Linked DNA regions of Homo sapiens: all the other regions are linked to region 1. Evidence: promoter capture Hi-C in human tissues and cell types (Jung and others, 2019). All regions are on one chromosome and are shown on one strand. The core of a region is centred on a gene start or on the middle of the fragment in contact, and the rest is flanking DNA. Distances in the headings are between cores, read along the strand shown. Region 1 holds the start of FLII (FLII actin remodeling protein). Region 2 overlaps ZNF287 (zinc finger protein 287). Region 3 overlaps CCDC144A (coiled-coil domain containing 144A).

What was found. The method cuts DNA at HindIII sites, captures the fragments that hold promoters and counts their contacts. A contact is called where the count stands out against the background at its distance.
Region 2: a fragment that was not itself captured here is called in contact with the fragment with the promoter of FLII in region 1 in 1 of the 25 tissues and cell types used here (dorsolateral prefrontal cortex).
Region 3: a contact is called between a fragment that was not itself captured here and the fragment with the promoter of FLII in region 1, in 1 of the 25 tissues and cell types used here (dorsolateral prefrontal cortex).

Annotation. Positions count from the first base shown.
Region 1 is chr17:18,257,004-18,260,991 of GRCh38, reverse strand. FLII (FLII actin remodeling protein) reads left to right here and starts at 2,254. Exons shown (of 30, transcript NM_002018.4): 1 at 2,254-2,364; 2 at 3,973-3,988. The coding sequence starts at 2,302. It overlaps MIEF2 (mitochondrial elongation factor 2), which reads right to left and starts at 330. Exons shown (of 4, transcript NM_139162.4): 1 at 255-330. RefSeq lists enhancers at 1-21, 643-772, 2,382-2,883, 2,883-2,962, 3,622-3,988 and silencers at 2,163-2,562, 2,573-2,712. The HindIII fragment of the contact is 13,885 bases long and covers 1-3,988 here.
Region 2 is chr17:16,545,637-16,549,624 of GRCh38, reverse strand. It overlaps ZNF287 (zinc finger protein 287), which reads left to right. Exons shown (of 6, transcript NM_020653.4): 6 at 1-2,671. Among named protein-coding and RNA genes, the nearest start is that of ZNF287, 22 kb to the left of the region's middle. The HindIII fragment of the contact is 5,711 bases long and covers 1-3,988 here.
Region 3 is chr17:16,756,943-16,760,930 of GRCh38, reverse strand. All of the region lies in intron 12 of CCDC144A (coiled-coil domain containing 144A), which reads right to left. Among named protein-coding and RNA genes, the nearest start is that of FAM106C, 30 kb to the left of the region's middle. The HindIII fragment of the contact is 6,812 bases long and covers 1-3,988 here.

The sequences.
Region 1 (3,988 bases), core at 1,005-3,504:
CCCTGGGCCCGGGCGGAGCAGGCCGCGCAGCAGCCCTAGGTGGGCGGGTGACGCCCCGTTCGCAGGATAAACCAAGAGACCGAGAGGGGAAGGGGGCTGGGCTAGGATTCGAACGCTGCCCTTGGTCCCCCAAAGGTCCCCTCCCCGCCTTCCCCAGCGGTGATCGCGGGCCACGCCCCCGATCTGCGTTCCGTCGCGCGCCAAGCCCCGAGCCCGGTGACCCTGGGGGCCGCCCCGCCGCGCTCCAGCTGTACCTGCGTCGCAGCTTCCGCACGACGACCGGAGGAGGCAGCGGGACCACGGCCCCGGAGCTCAGACCAGCCTGGGAATGGAACGTGAAGGACCCTGGAACCCAACGACTAGGGCCCCGGGGGCAGCCGCGGACTTCGCAGCACGCAGACAAGCAGGCCCTAACTCCAATCGGAGCGCTCGAGTCCAGCGCACAGGTGCCAAAATACTGCGCGGTTCAGCCAATGAAGGGCAGGTCCCGCCCCCCAGCCGACAGCCGCACTCCCTCTGGGGCGGGACTCCCTGACGCAGTCTGGATTTAAAGGTGCAGGGCTGCATTCCGAGACCGCGAACAGGTGACGTGACAGGCGACCCTCCAGGACGTCTGTGCGTTGTAATGTGAGCCTCCGGTGTGGAGGAAGCTGTCTGGGCCCCGTTCCTTCTGGGGACCAGGTAGAGAGGCTGCACATGGCTAGAGGCCCGGCACATCCAACCTCTTAGGTCACCTCTGCGAGAGAGTGTCTTGGTGGCCTCATTCTTACCTGTGGGCCTGAGGGGCACAGCGCCTACCCCTGCCACCTGCTCTGTGCGAGCTTGTGTGGGCCATTCTCCACCTGGGCATCAGTTTTTCTCCTGTAAAATGGGGACACTAGACCCCCTCCTCCCCTGCGAAGGATGGTTGGGCATATAACAGCTGTGGCTCATTTATTGGGGTCCTGCTATGTGTCAGCCAGGGCGAGCCCCCTTGAACAGCAAGGACCAAGACGGATGCTTCTCTTCTGGAGCCTCCCTTTGTAGGGGGGTACGAGCACAGGGGTGCTGACACTAAGTGGGAATAATAACCTGGCGCACAAAACAAAACAAAACGGAATAATAACCTGCCACTCACTGAGCGCCTGCTGTATGCTGCGAGCTACACGTGCATTCTTTGTTAATTTGCTCATGGTGACAACCTTAGAAAGTATTTTACAAATGAGGAAACTGGGTAGGGCGCGGTGGCTCACGCCTGTCATCCCAACACTCTGAGAAGCTGATACCAGAGGATCACTTGAGGCCAGGAGATCAAGACCAGCCTGGGCAACATAGCAAGCACCCCGTGTCTACAAAAAGTATAAATAAGGCCGGGCGCGGTGGCTCACGCCTGTAATCCCAGCACTTTGGGAGGCCGAGGCGGTTGGATCACGAGGTCAGAAGATCGAGACCATCCTGGCTAACACGGTGAAACCCCGTCTCTACTAAAAATACAAAAAAAAAAAAAAAAAAAATTAGCCGGGCGTAGTGGCGGGTGCCTGTAGTCCCAGCTACCCGGGAGGCTGAGGCAGGAGAATGGCGTGAACCCGGGAGGCGGAGGTTGCAGTGAGCCGAGACTGCGCCACTGCACTCCAGCCTGGGCGACAGAGCGAGACTCTGTCTCAAAAAAAATAAAAAATAAATAAAATAAATAAATTTAGCCAGGTGTGGTGGCCTGCGCCTATAATCCCAGGTAGTCGGGAGGCTGAGCCCAGGAGTTCGAGGCTGCAGTGAGCTATGATCACACCACTGCACTCCAGCCTGGGCAGCAGAGCAAGAAGACCCTGTCTCAACAAAACAAAAACAACACATGAGGAAACTAAGTCCAGAAGCAGGAGAGCTAGGACCCGAGGATCCAGGTGTCTCACTACCACCGGTCAGCCAAGTACAGGCACTTCCTGGGCCTCTGCGCCCCGGGGCCGAGGTTTAGAATCTCTCTGAGGTCAGGGCCAGCTTCATGTGCTGCAGCAGCGCAGGTGACGGTGCCTCGACCAGCGGCCGTTACGGCCCCTGCCCTGGGGCGCTGGGACTTAAGCCTGGAGATCGTGGAAGCCTCCAACTCCAGCACAGGGGGGGCCCGCACTCCTTGGTGCCTCCGCAGTCTTCGAACAGACGGGGAAACTGAGGCCCTAAGAGGCCTAAAGCCTACACTTCCCCGCGGAATGCGGCGGGCGCGGGCGGGTTAAAGGGGCGGGGCCGGCGCTGGCCCAGCCCGCGGCTCCCCCCAGCGCCCTCGCCCCGGCGCTCCCTAGCCCGGCGCGGCCCGGCAGCGAGAGCGGCGCCATGGAGGCCACCGGGGTGCTGCCGTTCGTGCGTGGCGTGGACCTCAGCGGCAACGACTTCAAGGTGAGCCGGGCCGGGCGCGTGCCGGGCCTCCCTGCAGGCCTTCTCTTCCGCCCGGCCCGCTTGGCCTCCGCTTCCTGTCCCGCTCGGCTCCAGGCCCTGCGTGTCCCAGGGACTGCGGCCGGGGCGGGGTGGGGCTCTCCCCTGGCCAGGAATGGACCTCCGAGGCCTCCGCCCAGTGCCTGTACGGGGAGACCGAGGCTGGGCAGGCCGGGGACGGACGCTTGGGCTCGGAGTCCCGCCGGGGGCCCGGCCGGGAGCCCCCACCCCGCGTCCGTGTTCTCGGTCTAGGCTGGATGGTGGCCTGGGGATCGGGCGAGCCTCCCCGCCCCTCTGAGGTCACACGCCCAAGCCAGGCCCTGACTCAGGGATGGCTGCCCGGCTGCCCAGGGGCGGGTGTGGAGCCGACTCATCACTGCCCTCTCCCCGCCACCGCCACCCGCCATACTGTGTGATCCTGGGCCTCTCAGATCACTTCCCCTCTCAGAGCCTAGGCTTTCTCAGCCGGTGAAGGGGCTTAAAAGTCTCCTCCTTGGACGCAAGGAGTATAGTGAGATTTGTTGGTGTGGAGAGTGTGTCAGGCCGGTGTGCCAGGTGCTGGGTGGCAGTTGTCTGAGCAGCTGCTGGACTGAGAGAAAAGGGACCGGAGCCCAGCCCTCCGCAGCCAGTGGGTGGGGCGGCGGGGTGGTTCCAGGACTCAAGAATGAGACAGGCATTGCCTGACCAAAGGGGAAGCAGAGAAAGAGAGGGAGGGAGAGCTGGCTGGAGGGTCAGCCTCACCTTCAGGGTGGGTGACTGGCAGGGTCGGCCTGGGTTGTTGGTCTGGGGCTGGGGCCGAGGAGGCAGGTTTTTCCTGCGTTTACCTGCCTGTGTACACACCTTTGACCCCAAGTACAAGTGGCTACACCACTTTTCCCTGACCCCATCCCCACCACCCTAACCTGGGGTCCCCGTTCCTCTTTGCTGAACTGGGAGAGTCCGAGTCACCAGCTGGGAATGTGGCGCTAGGGGGAAAGGAATATCAGCCGCAGGCACTGAAGGCACCTACTGCCCCAGACTTGGTGCCACAAGGGCTGGAGGTGCCGAGGTGGGCGTTCACACACCAGGGGAGTGCAGTGATGCTGGCCTGCCCTGCAGGGTGGGGAGCCACGGTCTCCGCAAGCAAGGGTTTGACCCTGGCCGTGAGTTGCCAGTGTGCTGATGGCAGGATGAGGGCACAGGTGGCGCCTTTGCAAAGGCTTGGAAGGGGGATCCCCCACCCCAGGCAGCCAGTCAGAGTGTGGAATGCTAGGTGAAGGAATTTGAGCCGAGCTAACCACAGAGCCGGATGCTGGGCTTTCACCTGAAACAAGCCAGTTTTGTCCTGGCCCTCCTGGGGCCCAGAATCCAGTAGGAGAGACAAATCTTAGGCCAACACTTTTGTCACGGGGGGGCTTAAAATTCCCATTCTATGGGTGAAGAAATTGAGGCACAATGATGAAATGACTTGTCTGTGTTCTCACAGATGGTGAGAGTTGGTTCTGTGGCTCCCCAAAGGCTCCCATGGGCTGGAGGAGCCATAGAAGGTGGTGAGCAGGGGCTCTGTGCTTCACCTTGACATCCTTCCCCCAGGGCGGCTACTTCCCTG
Region 2 (3,988 bases), core at 419-2,918, 1.7 Mb after region 1:
ATTGAGTGTTTTCTTTAAAAAACTTGATTTCCATTTCCCTTACATTAGTTAACCTTGATTTCATAGTATCATCCTGCACAAAGTACAGGTTGCAGAATACTCAAACTGTGCTTATATAGCTGTTTTTTAAAATAACAGTTGTTTGAAAATCTTATTTTTTTGATGCTGCTTCATCCCTCACACAGCACTTATTTCCCTTGGTTGAGCATGTGGCATGTGACAGTCCATAGCGCCTTCCTTTGCATTACTCTGTTATTTCCTGCCTTTGTATGTTTTATGTAAATAATGCATTTATAAAGTCTTCCACTGATAAACAGAGGCAATTGATGCCCTTATAAAATAACAGACTAGTAATAGTGGAGAACCCTAGATCTTTGTGTATTTTTCCCACTTTTACAGTTGTCTGACCCGCAAATTATTCAACAGTTTTTAGCAAATAGCCTTATTTTCCAGAACTTTTTATTATGAGTTTTCAAATATATAGAAAGTTTTAAAAATCATAAAATTAACTATATACCCACCTAAATTTAAAAACTAACATTCTGCCGTATTTTTTTTAACCAAACATTGGAAAGTAACTTACAGACATGACATTTCATCTCTAAATACTTCAGCATGCATCTTACAAAAATAAGGATGGTCTTTTACATAACCACAATACATTTACATACCTTTAAAAAAAAAACAAATAGTAATTCCCTAATATCTGAAGACTTAGTCTGTGTTTAAATTTCCTCTGTTGATCCAGTCAGTTTTCACACATAGTATTTGATTATCTGTTTCATCTATCTAGAACAGTCCCCACTTTGGTTTTTCCTTTTTTTTGAGACGGAGTCTCACTCTGTCACCCAGGCCAGAGTGCAGTGGTGCAATCTCGGCTCACTGCAAGGTCCGCCTCCCAGGTTCACGCCATTCTCCTGCCTCAGCCTCCCGAGTAGCTGGGACTACAGACACCCGCCACCACGCCCGGCTAATTTCTTTGTATTTTTTTAGTAGAGATGGGGTTTCACTGTGTTAGCCAGGCTTGTCTCGATATCCTGACCTCGTGATCCACCCGCCTCAGCCTCCCAAAGTACTGGCATTACAGGCGTGAACCACCGCGCCCGGACAGTTTTTCCTCTTTAAGAGAGCAGGTCAGTTGTCTTGAAAAATGTCTCATGTTCAGGATTCAACTGATTATTTACATGTGGGTTGTTCCGGTACCCCCTGTAGTTTCCATAAATTAGAAGTTAGGGCAAAAGGCTTGATTGGGTTGTTTAAACATTTTTAATGATAACACCTCACAGATGTATTTCATAGTGCATCATATCAAAAGTCTCATTAATATCAGGTTGACTCATTATCAATGGATCACTCATTTGAGGTCACCAGATCTTCCCAATATAAAGGTAGTTTTTCCTATTGCAATTAATCTGTGGACTGACACTGGCAGCACATGGATATTTTGATTGCCAACAACTTTTTACCTGGTAAAAAGTAACCAACGGTGATCGTTGCCTGAATCCATTGTCTCATCAATGTTTGCAAAATGACAATTTTCTAATTCTATCACTCTACACTTGTTGAGTGGCATTCTTGTATAATGTTCCCTCATCAACTAGGAATGCACTAGAGGCACAGTCAGCAATTATTTTACCTTAATTACCAGTGTAGGAGTTTAATTACCAGTAAAGAGTTTGATGCTTTCATCTGCAGTGATAACACATGATTCAATGTGTTAAGTCATTTATGATCATTGTTTCTGATGTTCAGATTGTCCCAAATTTGGCCAGGTGGAGCCCTTCAAGTATCTCTTATGTCCTTTTGACATTCACTCTCTAGTCTTTGGACACTTGATTGCCTTCTAACACAAGATATCTCAAGTTGGCCTTGCATTTTCAATGCCCCAGGCCTGGAATGAAACCTTTTTCCAAGAATCCCTGGCTCCTTTTAATAGGTAGCTATTTAGAAACCAAGATCTGGGCACTAGGGATTCTCACTGCTCCCGGAGTGTCACTGGCAATTCTTTCCAACCATTCAAGTTGGTTTTCATAAAGACAACTCTTCACTCATGCCATCAGTTACCTAATATCTGTGTAATGAGGGATATAATTACATAACTGGGATAAACTTTCGGGTGCAAACAACTAAATCTTGTTAAGCATGCACCTAAATTGGAGAGAACACTTCCATGTTATGTATGCTAGAAAGCAGCAAATTAGCTGCAAAAGGCCTGTGACAATGCCATCAGGAAATTTACAAGGGAATAGAACTTGTCAGTTAATCTGCCAAGTGGGTTAAGTAGAGGGCAATTAAGAAAGCAACTAGATGTATACCTAATACGTTGTGTTTTAACTATTATATGTCTATAACTTACGGTGTTTATAAGCTAATAGCCCTCCTTTCCCATCACATCTCTTAAGGCAGATTTCTGGTAAGATCTAAATATTAATCCTAAGGATCTGTTTCATGCAAATCTAAGTACTAGTTTTTCTTACTAAACCTTTATTTGGTCTCTAAAACTTTAAGGCTGTTATGTTTCATTCTTTGTCTTCTGGTGTCAGTTCACTTGCATGTGCCCGAAAATGTATTCTTACTCCTCTGTTTCTGTTCTCCCCATGGCTCTATCTTTCATAATTATTAGCCCCTTAGAACACTATAACCATTAAAAATGGCAAGCATGTGCACTACAGTGATATGTACAAATGCGTGTGTGTAAACAGCATCGAGCCCTGCACTGTGTATGAATGGGGAAAGTGAAGCCCATGATGCTGAAATGTCATGCTTGAGGCCATATGTCATATAATGACAGAATAAGGATTGGAACCGCATAGCTCCAGCACTTAGTTGAGTTCTTCTTGTAAAATAATGTTAAATGGAAATTCTGAGTACAAAGAGTATGTACCTACAATTTTATAGAATTATGTATTTTTATGAGATTAGAGCACTGAAAGTTTTTTAAATCTGTTTTTGTCTTCTTTCCCATAGAGTTTCTTTTTTGTTGTTTGTTTTGTTTTTTGTTTTAAGGAGCAGAGAGTTTAATAGGCAAGAAGGGGCTAGAAGGAAGGGAGAAGGAAGAAAGAAGCAGCTCACCTGTACAGAGACAGGAGAGGGGGCTCCAAAGCCGAAAGAGAAGGTCCCCACCTGCCACGGATACCAGCTAGGTATATATACAGAGGCTGGAGAAGGCAGTGTTTGATTTGCATAGGGCTCAGGGGATTGGTTTGACTAGGCATGTCTTCAAATAGCCAGAGGAAGAGCTGGCCCTCCCACCCATATGCAAATATGGGGCGCCACGATGTTCTACACACGTAGGGATAGGTGGGGGTGGCCATGTTGCCAGGAACATGTGGGGCAAGGGCAAGAAGGCTGTGGGAATTGACATGTTGGGTGGACCCAGTTTCTAATGGCCTGCATTTGCATATCAAAGGTTGATGGCCTGACTGTAAGAGTCGGGGCTTTACAAGAAACTTTTCTGGAGATGCTTTAAAAAACTAAAACTTCCCAAGGACCCCTTTGCCTCTCTGCCTAAAATAATTTCTTAATAACTCCTACCACATTCCTCCCTGTGGTGATATCACACTATCTGCTGTTAGGGGGTTTTGGGCGACGACTCTTTCTGGCTACTTCCTGCTGAAAAGGGGCGTCAAATGGGGAACAGCAGTGAGGGCTCCTCCTAGGGTCAACTTAAGGGTCCTCGGGAGAATGGCGTGTCCATATGTGGTTCAGTTTGCAGTACCATTTGGAGTTTGACTGCTTTGAGGCGAGAAGAAACAGTTCGAGTTATGGTACTGAGTATACAGGGTCCAAATATCAATACAAGACATATAAGCAGGAGAGGGCTTGATAAAGGGGCTGACCAATTCCATAAAGAAGATTGGAATTCATTAAAGAGGGATTGTAGCCATCCAGGGCTGGAGCCGGCATTTTCCCTGAGCCTGTTAATAATTTTGATTTCATTCTTAAGTACCTGTAGATTTTCCTCTACTAGAGGTGTTAATCATTACTA
Region 3 (3,988 bases), core at 581-3,080, 1.5 Mb after region 1:
CACCAGAATTCACAAAAATACATCCTTTACTTTCATCATCTTTGCCACACAACATTTGGACTTGATCTTAGACTTCTGTTTTCCTATGACTGTTTCATGGCTTTCCTCCTTAAAATGGCTCTAAGTTACCCCTTTAGCACAAAGTCTCTTATTCCTTTAACCCACTATCATTCTCCATAATTTGCAGAGAAGTTTTAGGGGCATCATATTGAATTATTTGGGCCTGAGTCAATAAATGGCTCCCATAATAAGACTCTGAAAATAAGACTCTAATTAATACATTTTGAAAAAAAAAAAAGGATTCCAATACCATAAGCCTTTTGCTGAACTGCAAATGTCTTACGCTAATTTGAGTTACATTTCAAAGAGTAATGATACTTGGAGTTAAGAAGCAATCACATCTCCCAGTATAAAAGTTCAGTGGCATGATCCATACCATTTTTCTGAAGAAAAATGCCTTAATTCAGTAGCACAATCTTGTAATTCATTGTTACTTTACACAAAATAAGGGAGCACATTAAAGAATGACAACAAAAAATTGCACTGAAATTTCAATGGTGCTGAGTTGGAAATAACTGCTTTCCTTTAGAGGAAATAATTATGATTGTTTTTTATTTTATAAAGGTAAGTGAAGTGGTGGTTTTAAAACATCTACAAATTGCTTGCCACTTCTCCCATGACATTCCCTCTCCTAAATACAAGCTGGCATTGACAACCGGTTTCTCCGGAACACAATGTGGCAGAACTGCTGTGTGACTTCTAAAGTTGGTTACAAAAAGTCACACAGCTTCTACCTGACTCTCTCTCTAGGGACGCTTGTCCTTAAAATGCAGCCAACATGCCGTGAGAAAGCCCAAACCATACCATGAACCCTCATGTAGGTAGGTGTTCGAGCTGACTTCCCTACCTAACGTCCCAGCCAAAAGCCAGCTTCGAATGCCGCACAGGTAAATAAACAAGCCTTTAGATGATTCTAGTCCCCAGCTTTAAGTCACCTCAGCTGATGCCAAGTAAAGAAAAAGGGAGTTGGCCCCACTGAGCCTTGCCTAAAACTGCAGATTGTGAACAAAATAGATGTTGTTTTGAGACACTGCATTTTGTTATATACCAAGAAATAACTGATACAGATATTGACACTACATATAGATTGCACAACAACAACACAACAAAAACTACTAAAACATGTAGGATTACCATTGGACCAGGAGCTAATCAGAAGCTGAAAGGACCTACAGAAGAATAAGCACAAAAACAAGAAGAGTTTTAAAGAGACTGTTAGTGGAAGCCTGATGGTCCTCGAAGAAGCTGGTAGGAAGGGCTCCAGGATAGTGAAGAAAACGATACGGGAACCTGAAGGAAAGGGCACTGTTACTACACAGCCGCTGAAAGTAAAACCAATGCAAGAGATAAGCTAAAGAAAGACTACTACATATAAAAGAACCAGGACTTTCTAGGTTCAGTATCCTTTTTATAGCCTCTCCACATGTCAGATTCCCAAATATAGACAGTCCTTGACTTAGCATGGTTCGACTCACCATTTTCTGACTTTTTATAATACTGTGAAAATGATATGTGTTGAGTAATGACATGATATGTGTAAGCCTTTTGGCTTACAGGGGTGGTTACATCAGGATAAAGTCACTGTAAATGGAAATTATCGTAAATGGAAAACCCACCCATAACTTCTGATATTTACAATTTATGATGGCCTATAAATTACAAATATCAGACATAACAAATGCAAATGCCATCCAGACATAAACCCATCCTAATCTGAGGAGCATCTGTATTGCTGAGATAAATGGCCTCTGAGATAAGATCAAATCCAGGGTGCTGCCAGGAGAAAGTCTGAAGGTGAAGCCAAGACTGTCAGTGTAAGGCTCTATTTTAAGACCTTAGAAAGATTTAAGGTGGTGCCTCAAATTCCCTTAAAGATCTTAAGGGTATACGCATCTTAAGGCACTGTCGTACTACACAGAACAGTGTGCTTCCTTCACAGGAAGCACAAGGTGAAGTGCTTATCTCAAAGAGATTGGGACAAGTGGTTTTTCCAATGACAAGAACTCAAGTAAAATTCACAAGAGACTCTAAGAGAATTATAGTAACAATAGCACTGCTTGCTAGCTTGGCTTAAAAGACAACAAGACAGTAAAAATGAAAAGAGGCCTTAGGACCTAAGAGCTTCTACAGGGAGGAAGCTGGCTGAAGAAACTACTTAGCTGAAAACACAGGTCATTGCTTATGAAAAGGATACAACAAAGAGCCAAGAAGGTACCACAAAAAGCCACAGAGGATGGTTCCCATGAAGTCCAAATCAAGTAAGTGGAAGCACACATCAGGCTGTATTTCAGAATTTCTATGGTCTAATATTCCCTTTGTGACTCCCATTTTCTCTCTGTTCAATAGGAGGGTCTCTGGCAGTTTAGGAGAATGCTGGGTGGGTGAGTGGTAGACAAGTTGTCCCTTTAGTTCTTACGTCTTTGTGTTGACAAGAAATGCACTCAAGGGGTTATACCGCAGAAACCACAACCCAGGGTGCATCCCTACCGTCTGTGATAAAGATGGTAGGATCTTGCACTTCAAGCCTGAGCTTGCTGCCATATTAAATGAAACTTGTGTGTGTGTGATGGGAGGTTAGGATCTTGCACTTTAAGCCTGAGTCTTCTGCCATATTAAATAAAACCTGTGTGTGGGGTGAGAGGTAATAATTAGAAATTAGTGTGTTTTTCAAGTGGTAGAAATCTTTTAAATTATAGTTATAGGGTCAATTGTGCAGGTTTTAAAACACGTCTATACATTCCTTAATATGCACAGCATAGACAGAGACATCATCGAGATGGCTGACTGGGAATACCCAGCACTCACCTCTTTCAAAAAGAAAAACCAAAACAGCAAGTAGGTAACCACACCTTGAGGAAAACATCAAAGAGAGTATACTGGAATTCAGCAGGAAATTGATAGGGATCCTCTGATGACAGAAGGAAAGGGAACTGAGGTAGCCAGCCCAACCAGGATCATCTCAAAACCAGGACCGATTCCCCCAAATCCCTAGCCCCACAGCACCATATACCTGTGGAAATAGGTGGTCATCTAATAGCCCACCAGGGAAGCTACTCTAGGTCAAAGGGATCCTAAGTGTGTGCTGTCTAGAGCCTAGGAGCCACCTGACTGACACCACTGCCACCACCAGCAGCCCTATCCCCTTCAGGGGCAGTGCTGTGCATACCTGTACATACCTTTAGGAGGCCGGAGGACTGGCCCACTCAAGTGTACCATGCAGGAGCCTGAGAACAAGCCTGTCAAGCCCACCAGGGGTGGCGCCCATGTGAGCCATATGAGAGCCTGAAGACAAGGCCACTTTGCTTGCTGCTGCTATTGTTGCTATCAGTGCTCACATACACTGTCCAGGACCCTGAGGAGCAGCCCACCCCACCCAGGCCTCTGTGCCTTTACCCAGGCCCCATCTACCACTAATACCAAGGAGAGTCCTACTGCCCCACCGGCACCTGCACGTGGCATCCAGGAGCATAAAGACAGGGCTGCCTCACCAGCCACTGGCAAAGGCTCCTGCACGTGTCTTCAGTTAACCTGTGGACAAGCCTGCTCCACACACTGCCTTAGGTACCCACCTAAATGTTCCTCATAGGGGGCCAGAGAAATGCCCATGCAGCCTGCTTTCACCACTACCAGTGCCCATGCATGCTACCAAGGGATCCAAGGTCCGGCCCCCAGCTGCTACTGTCATCTCCAGTGCCACAAGTGTCACCAAGGTCCTTTGGCCTGGCCTGCTATTGCCACCTCTGATCCCAGCACACACCACCTGGAGGCCCAAGGGCCAGACCACTCAGGTAACCCACTGCCACCAAAAACTGGGAAGCATGGCCTGGTGCTGCCAATCACACATACATCCTTGTGTATGCCATCAATGTGCCTGAGGACTGGCCTGCTGTCCTCCCCATCACCATCAAGGCCTCACCACAGCATCCCC